4 separate regions of the Homo sapiens genome follow, and regions 2, 3 and 4 are each linked to region 1. Evidence: promoter capture Hi-C in 16 types of primary human blood cells and fetal thymus (Javierre and others, 2016). All regions are on one chromosome and are shown on one strand. Each heading gives the region's core, a stretch centred on a gene start or on the middle of the fragment in contact. The rest is flanking DNA. Distances are from core to core; before and after follow the strand shown. Region 1 holds the start of ZNF197-AS1 (ZNF197 antisense RNA 1). Region 2 overlaps TGM4 (transglutaminase 4). Region 3 overlaps TOPAZ1 (testis and ovary specific TOPAZ 1). Region 4 overlaps TCAIM (T cell activation inhibitor, mitochondrial).

Region 1 (2,872 bases), core at 49-2,548:
AACATACATTTTATTAGCTTCTCACAAAAGGTTTTCAAAGCAGAAGTTAAAAAAAACAAAAGGATCAGAGGAGCGAATCCACTCAAGGCCACTTAGCTAACTGAGACATGGGAGCAAATTCTGAATTCAGGGATTCTAATTCCAGAAGTCCAAAACAATTCCATCTACGAAGAAACTTATGAAACCCAAACAACCCAAACTGTTCTAAAACAACAGTTTCCAAACACCAGTCCACGACAAAGCTTTAATCTGGTAAGCTGCAAAAAGAGAAAACCAGTAACAATCGTCGCTGACAGGTTGGCAATGAGTGTGTGTGTGTGTGTGTGTGTGTGTGTGTGTGTGTGCGCGCGCGCGCGCAAAGGCCAGCATTTATTCTGAGTTTACGGTCTTAGTACTTTGTGTTAAAATGTATTGCCTGAAGTAATGTTGGTATGGGTGGTTTCAAGTTTGAGTTTTTCAAGTTTGATTTTTAAATACCATTATATTACAAAACTAAAAGACTAAAAAAGCTAAAATCGTTCCACCCCTTAAAACAAACAAACAAAAAAATCCGTCCTCAAGAGTCTGGGCGCCACCGGTAATAGGGAAACCTCAGAATGTTTCTGTGGATTAGCCTCAGACAAGACTGAGGAAGAGCAGAAAGGCCTGAGCTGGGGGAGCAGGCTACTGAGGCAGCTCTTCTCAAAGCGCCAGCAGAGTCCGTTAGACAGGAGCACCGGTCCACAAACACACACAGACTCGGAGCTGCTGTCCTCAGTACTTCCCTCGGGCCGGCTGCCTGCCCAGCCGAGGCCACGACGTCGAACCCCAACACGAAGCTGGCGACGGACCATGCCGGGGGTCAGGGCCCGGGAGAGGCTACCGAGGGCTGTGCAGTCCCAGCAAGCTCAGGCCCGCGTCCCGGGCCGCCTTCCCTGCACGCCCACCCGCCCCCGAGCCCACCCCGCTCACCGGGGGCTCCCGCTGCGGCTCCAGCCTTGCGTACCGCCGCCTCGGCGCCAGGCCGCTAGGAGATGACACAGGAACGAGCCCTTCCGGCAGCCGAGGCACAGAATAATGGCCGAGCCGAGAATACTGCGACTTCCGGTTGCACCCCGCCCCTCATCCCGGATCTCTAGGAAGCCACATCTCTATGGTTCGTTTCTTTTCCCAGAACTGGGGAAGAGAGGCGGAACTCCTGAGCCCTTGGGTACTAGTGTTCCTTACATCGAACAAGAACTGGCCGCTGTTTCAGACCGGAAGGGTGCAGAGATGAAAGACAGGACCCAGGGTCTCAGGATGCCTGTTGCCTCCTAAGAGAGTTGGACATTTCTATTTTGATTTGCATTTCAATTGAGGTTGATAGGGAGTGACCTTCACGTCTGAATGACCTGGTAGGTGACTTTTCTGGTCTCTTCTTGAACTTATGCAATTCTCACTATAAATAATAACATGACTTATAAATCACCCTCTTGTGAATTCGCTTACTGTGGTGTATCTCTTGCCCACATGATGACATATTGGAGCTATGATATTAAATAATAATCAAGTTGATGGTGCAAGGTAATGTGCAAATGGTAGGGACATCTCTCCCCTGAAAGAAGAGGTTATTCTAGCTGTCCATCGCCCTGGGTAAAGTCAGGTGTATATAAAGGAAACTGGCACTCTGATCCTCTCTTTGGTCTTCAGTCTCTTAAGTTTGGACTTCTGGAACTGACACCCCTATATGGGACTATGGCTGAAACAAGTCTCCAAAAGGGCAAAGGCCATGTCTGCATGGATCCCATGTATTTAGCACCTAGTACAAAGCTGAAGCCATATAGGTTGTAGATGAATGTTTATTCAATGAGCAAGGTTCATGTTATTCTGTTTATGTCTTTTTTTTTTTTTTGAGATGGAGTTTTGCTCTTGTTGCCCAGGCTGGAGTGCAGTGGCGCAATCTTGGCTCACTGCAATCTCCACCTCCCGGGTTCAAGCGATTCTTCTGCCTCAGCCTCCTGAGCAGCTGGGATTACAGGCACGTGCCACCATGCCTGGCTATTTTTTTTTTTTTTTTTTTTTTTTAGTAGAGACGGGGTTTCACAATGTTGGCCAGGCTGGTCTTGAACTCCTGACCTCAGGTGATCCACCCCCACCTTGGCCTTCTAAAGTGTTGGAATCACAGGCGTGAGCCACCGTGCCAGGCTTATTCTGTTTATTTCTTTATGTTCTCTCCTGGCATTCATTAAACAACATACTTAAACTTCAGCCTTGATTCATTCATTCATTCAACTACTGAGTACTTGCCATATGCCAAATACTGTTCTGGGCACTAGGGACATAGATAAAGAGGTAAAGTCTCTGTTCTCATGGGGCTTACATTTCTAGTGGGATAAACAGAAAACAAATATAAAAATGTGTCAGGTGGTGGTAAATGCTAAGAAATGTGAAAGCTGATCATAAGAATTGGGTCATTTTTGTCATACCTAATAAAAGAAAGTCGAGAAATTAGCTGGGGGAAGCACTCAGGGTACACAACATTGCTCCAGGAATGTTATTCTCTGTAAGCTTGACTGCTGAAACTGCTTATTATAAGCCAAAACCAGTTTTATCTATAGCTTCTGAGATAAGTTGCTGCAACTCTAGGACTAATTTTGCCCACCGCAGTTGCTCACCAACTGGAGCTTGTCAGCTCCCCACACCCTTACTACTGCCAATGAACTTTCTCAAAGAGCAATATGTAACATTCCTCCTTTTTGTAAAACCTCTAACCTTCTCTTTGTTCTTCAGAGAGAGCACCACTTTCAGTTCAAGCCAGAGACTATCTCTCCGAGTTTGTAAACTGATGTTGTGAATAAAACTTTCTTTTCTTTCTTTCTTTCTTTTTTTTTTTTTTTTTTTTGAGATGGAGTCT
Region 2 (2,974 bases), core at 78-2,577, 260 kb before region 1:
GGGAAAGAGGGGAGCGGGCAAACTGAGGAGGGAACAGATGAGCCCTGGGATTGCTCCCCTTCCTGTTCAGCCCAGACTCCCATCAGCTTCAAGTCAGACACCATCCTGAGGTGAGAGTTCACATCCTGAAGAGAAGGGTGGGGTGCAAAGTGGCTGGGGTGAAGCCTTTTTATCCAAATTGAGGAGGAAGCACCAAGGAGCTCCCATGATCTGAGGCCAAGACTACTTGCATTATAAATGGGATTTTTAAGGCCAGGTGCAGTGGTTCACGCCTCTAATCCCAGCACTTTGGGAGGCTGTGGGGGCGGCGCATCACCTGAGATCAGGAGCCGAGATCAAGCCACTGCACTCCAGAATGGGTGACAGAGTGAGACTCCATCCCCCCCAAAAAAAACAGGGGATTTTTTTCTTCAATGCTAAAGTGAAAAGTACATTCAGTAAAAGAAATAATCTCCACATGCATAATACACCCTTTTCTGTAGCACATGTATTTCTCACCATGTGTCTGTTATAATGACATTTCGTATTACCTCAGCTTGAGACCCAAACCCCTCCCCTTTATCTAAAATTCAAACCATTCCCAGGCTCATGAGTCATGAAGGGAAATGTGTTTTGGCTGCATGCTGAAACCACCTGGGGGTTGTAAAACTACTTATGTTCTCCCCCAGCGATTCTGATACAATTGTTCTGAGTGGGGCTGAGCCTCTATGTTTTCAAAGCTTTCCAGGCAATTCGAGTGTGCAGAGGGCATGGTAAAACACAGACTGCCAGACCCACCCTGAGTTTCTGATTCAGCACATCTGGGGTGTGGCTGAGAATTTGCCTCTCCAGCAGCTTCCTTGATGACGCTGTGCTGCTGGCCCAGGGAGGCACATATGGAGAACCCCTAGATTAGGAAGCCCCGCTGTGGCCTGTGAGGTAAAGTGAGGTGAGATGCAGGGACCTTCCTCTGCTCCTGAGGGCTCACCCACAGAGGAAACCCATCCTCTGCAGAGATCAAGGAGGCCAGCCATGGAAACTGGGCTTTCATGACTACAAAATAGGTGGAGTGGTCACGCCCACATCAGATGCCTACCTTGGGGATGCGGCCAGTGATGTGTTTGGAGACAGCACAGCTCATTCTTGCTGGAGTGGCTTTGGGATTGGGGTCTGGACAAGTGTTCTCCAGGAAGGCAAGTCCCAGCAAGTGGCCTTCCCTTCACACTGCGCACAGGGCCTGGGAACCTGCTGCCTCCAGCAGGGAGGCCCACCTGGCAGACAGACCTACCTTCCCAGGTGCTTCCCCTTCTTGGGCTGAAACCTTGGGGTGGGCCGATGGCTAGCTGGAGCATCTTAGCCCATTTGTGCCACTGTTATGGAATACCTGAGACTGGGTCATTTAGAAAGAATAGAAATTTATTTCTCACAGTTCTGGAGGCTGGGAAGTCCAAGATCAAGGCACTAGCATCTGGTGAGGGCCTCTTGCTGCATTGTAACATAGCAGAAGGCAGAGGGCGAGAGAGGACCAACTCCCTCCTTCAGGTCCCTTTAGAGGGGCACCTCATCTCATTCACAGGGAAGAAGCCCTTATCACCTAATCAACTCTTAAAGGCCCCACCTCTTAGTATCACCACATTGGCAACCCCTGAATTTTAGGGGGAGACATATTCAAACCATAGCATGCTGTCAGGAGCTGCAATCCTGAAAGGCTTCTTCATTTCCCTGGACAGCAGAGCTCCTGCTGTGGGACCCAGAGCCAATCGCAAAGCAATCACAGCTGGAAAAGGGCTTTAACAGTCCCTCCCATGTTCTGACTTATTCCTGCTCCCCCATGGACTGGGCAGGTGGGTGACCTGGGTTCCCAAGGGGTAAAGGTATAGGTTTTGGTACCAGGAAGCAGGAAAGAGCAGTTAAGAAATCCAAATCCTAAATGCAGTCATCTCTGTGGAAGCTTCTTAAGACCTTATCTCCCTGGAATGGTAAACATAGTCCCTCCCTTGGTGGCTAGTGTGCACATTGAGTGCCTGGCACATGCCTGGCACACAGTAGGCACTCGACAAAATGCAGGCCATCATTAATGTTAGGCAGATGGGCATATAGTGGGTTGAATGGTGGTCCCACAGAAGATATCTCCACCTGGAGCCTATGAATGTGACCTTATAGAAATAGGGGATTTTCAGGTGTGATTAAGGATCTTGTGATTATATTATCCTGGATTATCCAGGTAGGACCTAAATCCAAGAATAAGTGTCCTTATAAGAGACATGGAAAGGCAAGGGGAGGGTCATGTGAAGATGGAGGCAGAGACTGGAGTTACACAGCTGCAAGCCACAGAACACCTGGAGCCACCAGAAACCAAGAAAGACAAGGGAAGATTCTCCACTGGAGGCTTCTGCAAGAGCAGGACCCTGCGGACATTTTGATTTTGGATGTCTATCTTCCAGAACGAGAGAATAATAAATTGCTGTTGTTTTAAGCAGCCTCATTTGTGGTCATTTGAATGCCCTAAGAAACCAACATACAGCACATAACAGATGGCCAGTACTGGAGCCTCCTCCCTCACCCTCTCCTGGGCACTGCTCTGTGACCTGAGCACTGCTTAAGGCAGATCTGGGAGGCTGGAGGAATCCTGGAACTACAGGAAGCCACACTGGGGCTGTCTTTAAAAAAATGCCTTTGGAGTCACATACCTGTAATCCCGGTTACTCGGGAGACTGAGGTGGGAGAATCACTTGAGCCCAGGAGTTTGAGGCTGCAGTGAGCTATGATTGCAGCTGTGAATAGCCACAACACGCCAGCCTGGGCAACAAAGTGAGACCTCAACTCTAAAAAAAAAAAAAAAAAAAAAGCGTTTGTATTTTTATTTTGTAGCTATTGCACTTGGATAGATGGTCAAAATTGATATACCAGTTTAATGCTTGCAGTGTCATAAATGCAAGATGACCAGGGAAACCTGCAAAGAAAAAGTGTCAGTGGAATACAATGTCCTTGTTTC
Region 3 (3,139 bases), core at 80-2,579, 300 kb after region 1:
CTGCTCTTTTAATACATATAAATATCTAATCTTATATATTATAAATTCTGGGTTAGAGAATACAATTATAAACCAATATATTAAAACATTTTAAATGTAACTTACTTTTGTAGTGGGCTCTGGCTTTGAGCCATAAACGACTCCTTCCTAAAGAAGTAATTAATCTTCTGAGAAAGGAAAAATCAATAGGGATGCTCTTTGAAATCATGAATTCTGCCACAGAGGATGACATACCAAGACTACTGCTTTCTATACAGGAACCTAGAAGCTTATTAAAAAGAAGGCTATATTGTGAGACTTCCACAGTTTCTGGAATAAAAAAAATGATATAATAAAATTCATTTATATTAAAGTGTCTCAAACCTCCATCTCATACTCCTTTTTCTTTCTCCTCCCCTTCACCCTTTCTTACCCATTATAGGACTCACAGTCACTAAAATGCAATCATTTTATATATTCTCTTTATTTTTCTTCTCCTTTTTTGAGACAGGGTCTCACTCTGTCAGCCAGGCTGGAGTGCAGTGGCATGATCTTGGCTCACTGCAACCTTCACCTCCTGGGCTCAAGTCATCCTCTCGCCTCAGCCTCCTAAGTAGCTTGGACTACAGGTCCACCAGGCCTGGCTAATTTTTATGTTTTTTTGCAGAGGCAGGGTTTCACCATGTTGCCCAGACTAGTTTCGAATTCCTGGGCTCATCTATGGCCATACCACCCTGAACACGCCCATATCGTCTGATCTCAAATTCCTGGGCTCAAGTGAACTGCCTGCCTCAGCCTCCCAAAGTGCTGGGATTACAGGCATGAGCCACCGCGCCCAACCTATCTTACATATTCTCTAAGTCAGAAACGAAAAAGCATTTGACAAAAGAAAAACCATTAACTTCCTTTGCAATAGAGAAGATAAAAAGAAGCTTGACAAAAATTTCAGAGGATGCATTAAGACCTCTGTATTTGATTCCCACATGTAACTGTGTATCTGTAGTGTCTTGAATAATTTCTCAATTCTGTTTGTATTATATCTACAGTTCAGACCTTAGCCTTATATATCCCTTGACTAAAAACAAATCATCCCCTAATAAATATTTACTGCCAAATTTAAAACAATCCTTTAATGGATTTTCTATTCCTTCAGTTATTCTTAGAAGAAAGAGAAGTCATCTTAGAGACTTCTCTTTTATTCCCTATATTCAGTCAGTTGGGTCTGTGAGCTAGACTGTAGTTCCTTACTGCTTTAGAATCTTTTAGTTATCCAGGACTTATCAGGAAATTAATCTCTCTACTTTTAGTCTTTTCCTAAACACTACTGCCAGAGGAACTTTCCTGAAACACCAATTTCATTATATCACTCCCTAGACCCAAAACTCTAGTGATCCCTTTTTATACACAGAGAAGAAAATTCCTTTAGCCTGACATTTAGGGTCTTCCAAAATCTGGCACAACTATCTGTCCAATCTCCCTATTACTACTTTGTTTCATTACCAACTAATTGTATATTAAGAGATTGCTAGATAGCAGCCATTGGGCCAGGAATACCAAGGTAAAGAAAATAGTACCATCCTGATTGAGCTCACTTTGTATAAGGAGAAACAGATAAGAATGCTCATTACAATACAGGAGCACAGTGGAATTAAGTGGAAAAATGAAAATTTATAGATAGTACGATGAAAGTACTGAGGGGAGGCCCTCAGGTTAACGTTTTCGTCATCCTCTGAACCTATCACATAGCTCATTCTTGACCCAAAGCTTTTGCTCATGGACACCCAACATTCAAGAGTACTGACTACCATTTCCCACATTGGCGTTTGAACTTGGCATCTGTTTCACTTCCTCCATTTCTTTCAAGTTTACCTGTGTTCCTAGGTAATGTAAACTAAGTTCTGTATTTATTCAGTGATAAGAGAAAAAGCTTGCTCAGGGCATTTAAACATATTGTTTGCTGATGACTTGACAGAAGTAGGGAAAAGGGAATGATAAAAATGCTTGTCTTAGGAACTGCTGACAAACAACCCAAAGATAAGCATCTCAGATTTTTTTAAACCATCAGGAAAGTATATTCAATTTGCAGAGAACATATTTTACAGAAAACTACTTCATTAAAAAATATGCTGGAATATAAAACTCAATCAAAACAGGTGGATAACTATTTCTTATTAACAGTTAAACACCAGATGGGCAAGAGATAATTAAGATAGACTTTTAAAAAACATACCTTGGGAATTTTGAAAACCTGGTAGATTCTGCAAAACTTCAAATGTCTGTCTATAAAGGCTCTTGGCTAAGATTTCATGTGCAATTGTACAGAGTAAATTATGTCGATTAAGCACATCCAGTCTATCACAAGGCCACAGAGGCGTATTGATTATCCACTCTGACTCTTCCAAAAAGAAAAAAATATGAATAGTTTATACCATGAAAATGACACTTAACAGTATAATCACAACTAATGTTTCAATATATCTTTTGAAGAAACAGGCAAAACTTAAACATATGTACTCAGAGAAGATAACCATGGCTCAAATTTATTAGAAATAACTTATATAGTGATGATCATCATCTGAAGAAGATGCAAACAAATGGCCACTTTGTTATATTTATTTTTAATTAATTCTTCATCTAAGTGTACTAGTCAATTACTAATTTTAAATGTTTATTTTTATATAAAAAAGTTCAGATTATCACAAATATTTGCTTTAACATAAAATATTATTTATGTGGACAAGTTTAACAATTTCACAATAAATAATTTAATTAGTTTTTGGTATTACTGGGGAATAGCTTTTCTTTTCTTTTCTTTTTTTGAGATGGAGTCTCACTCTGTCACCCAGGCTGGAGTGCAGTGCAGTGGCGCAATCTTGGCTCACTGCAACCTCCGCCTCCCGGGTTCAAGTGATTCTCCTGCCTCAGCCTCCTGAGTAGCTGGGACTACAGGCGCGTGCCACCACACCTGGCTAAATTTTTTGTATGTTAAGTAGAGACGGAGTTTCGCTGTGTCAGCCAGGACAGTCTCGATCTCTTGACCTTGTGATTGGCCCACCTTGGCCTCCCAAAGTGCTGGGATTACAGGCATGAGCCACTGCGCCCGACCAGCGAATAGCTTTTCTTAACACTTTCTATTTTAAAAACAATTTCTATTATGAAA
Region 4 (2,822 bases), core at 84-2,583, 280 kb after region 1:
AATAATCAAAGCAAAATAAAATTTGTGTAAAGTTCAAGGTCTTTAGTTATCCAGAAAAATACATTCATCCACTAATCGCTTTGTAATCACAGAGTATAACTAAACTACTACTGAGAAATGACTAATAAAGGACATTAGTGCTTAGAAATGTGACAATAGATTTTCTCAACAAAAATAAAATGTTACCAAATACAAATCTAAACATTAAATCATGGTTTCCAGATTTAGAAAGAGAGCACTAAAAAAATGACAGGTTGAGAATTAGGTGTTTTCTATCTGCTTATTTTGTGAGCAAGCTATTTCCTAAAAAGGTTTACATTTCAGTAGAGTAATAGAATTACAATCTAGGCCTCTGCTGTCTAAAACAGTAGGCAGCCACTAGCCACATGTAGCTACTGTGCACTTGAAATGTGGTTAGTCTAAATAGAGATGTGTTAAGCTTAACATACCCACTGGATTTAAAAGATTCAGTACAAACAATGGAAAGTATCTCAGTAATAATTTTTCATATTGGTTATGTGTTGAAATTATAATTTATTAAAATTAATTTCACTTTTACTTTTTAAAAAGTAAAACATCTAGTTTTTAGAAAATTTTAAATTATATCCAAGGCTTACATTCTATTTTTATTGGATTGTGCTGATCTAAACACTTCCAGTGAATGTGACTGTCAAAGTAGGTAGTTTGCATAATGGTTAGGAAATGGAGGCTAGGGGGCTTGAGATTTGTATTCAAATCTTGACATCTTCAGTGACTGTGTGAGCAAGGGCAAGTTACGTTACCTTCTGGAGTCTGTTTCCTCATCTCTTAAATAACATAGATGGTTAAGAAAAGTCTGTTGTAACACCAAAACATTTCTTCTTTTTTTTTTTTGAGACAGAGTCTCGCTCTGTCACCTGCGCTATAGTGCAGTGGCATGATCTCGGCTCACTGCGACCTCTGCCTCCCAGGTTCAAGCGATTCTCGTGCCTCAGCTTCCCGAGTAGCTGGGATTACAGTCGCCTGCCACCGCACCCAGCGAATTTTTGTATTTTTAGTAGAGATGGAGTTTCTCCATGTTGGCCAGGCTGGTCTCGAACTCCTGACCTCAGCTGATCCTCCTTCCTCGGCCTCCCAAAGTGCTGAGATTACAAGCCTGAGCCACTGTGTCCAGCCTTAAAATGTTTATTTAATGTGAATCAGCTTATATGCAATTGGTCAATAGGGGAAAGACTTATATATGCACTTTACCCCCAACATATTACTGATTTGAAGTGATCAGAGGTAGGCTTTCTACAATTTAAAAAAAAAAAAAAGGCTTTAGTGATATGTAAAGACCTTAAGGAAAAAAAATCTCCTGGTATTTCTTTCTTTTGGTTTAAGAAGCAGATGTTTAGTGGGTTCAAGTCTGGCTACATTTTCCACTTCATCAAACCATCTGGCAATGTGCTAGGATAAACGAAAAAGCTAGAGATTTCCAAGTCTTTTAAAAAAAAATTTGATTGATAAATAAAGCTACTCCTAGATTAGAATGTTAATCTTGATGAAACTGGTCTAAACTAGATTTAATTTTACTACCATGTTTATTAGGGTTAGGGTTTTTGTTAGGGCTCTTATAAAATTTTGTTCAGTTTTGAGTGGTGTGTGCTTTTTCTCCACAAACTGTTACTTTTGCTTATTGTTTGGCAGCATGTCAGGATTTCCAGGAATGCAAGAATGGCATTACAGCAGAAACATGTGGATATATATAAACATTCTGTCCCCACTCCAAACTGCCTTTTAATTCTGAATCTTAAGTTTTCATTAACTGAGAGAATACTTTGAGCTAACACAATGCTAATCTGCTAGACAGGAGTACAATTTAGTAAATGAAATTAGTGAATATTTTATTGAATTTTGTCTTTATTTTATAAAAAAGAAAAATTACAATTCTAATACTAGTAATAAAGAATACGAAATGAAATACAAATGAGAAAACGTTATCTATATTGATATTTGGTCTGTATCTGATGCTCACTGAAGTTATCTGGACAGCACATTTAAGATAAAATGGTGGAAAGACACAGACAAAATGCTAGAAATATTCAATAAGACTTTTCTAAAAGGTGAAATCTAATTTAGAACCTAATAATGATGTTTAAGCACTGTGGATGTGGAATCCCACATCTGACTTTGTGTATGTGTTTTCAGGGGTACATCACTTATGAAAGTAGGGGCTATCTTTTTCATAGAACTTTTGTGAAGCTTAAGTAGAATATGCATAAGGGATTTAGCCACATTTAGTAAATAAAAAATTCATTACAGTTGCAACTATTATTATGTCAGAGTGTATTAAAAAATGGCATAATTTTTTTCCATCTAATGTCAGATAACATATTGCTCAAACATGCAGTTCAATACAACATTTTATTCAAAAACAAATTTTGAAAAACTTTGTTGAAAAACTCAGAATTATCACAATAAGGAGTCAATGTCTGAAGGTCTTAAACACAAGGTAGTAGGCAATTTTGCCAAGGCTACATACAATTCAAAAAGTACAGATGAATAATTTCACAAATTTTTCTCTAGAAAAATACTTTTAATTCATCAGAATTAAAAAATAGCTAGTTGTTTACTTTTACCATTTGAAGACAAAGGTGGCACTTGCTAACCAATAAAAACACAAGTTTTGATGGAAGTAGCATTTCTCTCTTCAAAATAAAAACCTAAAGTGAATATAATAAAGTTATATTGTGCTGTGGGAATTGTCTTTTTATGAATTAATACTGACTTTTTAAAGACAGTGTTCTGGGTCATGGAGAAACAATGAGAGAGCAATAGGGGAGAAATGAGAGGGAATGTGA

Evidence for each region. Contacts are between HindIII fragments. The CHiCAGO score rates a contact against its expected background, and 5 or more counts as called.
Region 2: a contact is called between a fragment that was not itself captured here and the fragment with the promoter of ZNF197-AS1 in region 1, in 1 of 17 cell types (endothelial precursors). The highest score is 5.4, in endothelial precursors.
Region 3: a contact is called between a fragment that was not itself captured here and the fragment with the promoter of ZNF197-AS1 in region 1, in 1 of 17 cell types (erythroblasts). The highest score is 5.0, in erythroblasts.
Region 4: a contact is called between a fragment that was not itself captured here and the fragment with the promoter of ZNF197-AS1 in region 1, in 1 of 17 cell types (total CD4 T cells). The highest score is 5.3, in total CD4 T cells.

Annotation. Positions count from the first base shown.
Region 1 is chr3:44,623,223-44,626,094 of GRCh38, reverse strand. It overlaps ZNF197-AS1 (ZNF197 antisense RNA 1), which reads left to right and starts at 1,298. Exons shown (of 2, transcript NR_046658.1): 1 at 1,298-1,373. All of the region lies in intron 2 of ZNF660-ZNF197 (ZNF660-ZNF197 readthrough), which reads right to left. It overlaps ZNF197 (zinc finger protein 197), which reads right to left and starts at 1,059. Exons shown (of 6, transcript NM_006991.5): 1 at 952-1,059. All of the region lies in intron 2 of ZKSCAN7-AS1 (ZKSCAN7 ZNF cluster antisense RNA 1), which reads left to right. RefSeq lists an enhancer at 224-726 and a silencer at 706-1,055. The HindIII fragment of the contact is 2,284 bases long and covers 245-2,528 here.
Region 2 is chr3:44,881,911-44,884,884 of GRCh38, reverse strand. All of the region lies in intron 1 of TGM4 (transglutaminase 4), which reads right to left. Among named protein-coding and RNA genes, the nearest start is that of TGM4, 8.8 kb to the right of the region's middle. RefSeq lists an enhancer at 314-991. The HindIII fragment of the contact is 1,211 bases long and covers 722-1,932 here.
Region 3 is chr3:44,320,262-44,323,400 of GRCh38, reverse strand. TOPAZ1 (testis and ovary specific TOPAZ 1) reads right to left here. Exons shown (of 20, transcript NM_001145030.2): 17 at 2,210-2,374; 18 at 106-309. Among named protein-coding and RNA genes, the nearest start is that of TCAIM, 17 kb to the left of the region's middle. The HindIII fragment of the contact is 832 bases long and covers 914-1,745 here.
Region 4 is chr3:44,341,188-44,344,009 of GRCh38, reverse strand. The region is part of intron 1 of TCAIM (T cell activation inhibitor, mitochondrial); the gene reads right to left. Among named protein-coding and RNA genes, the nearest start is that of TCAIM, 3.8 kb to the right of the region's middle. The HindIII fragment of the contact is 1,784 bases long and covers 442-2,225 here.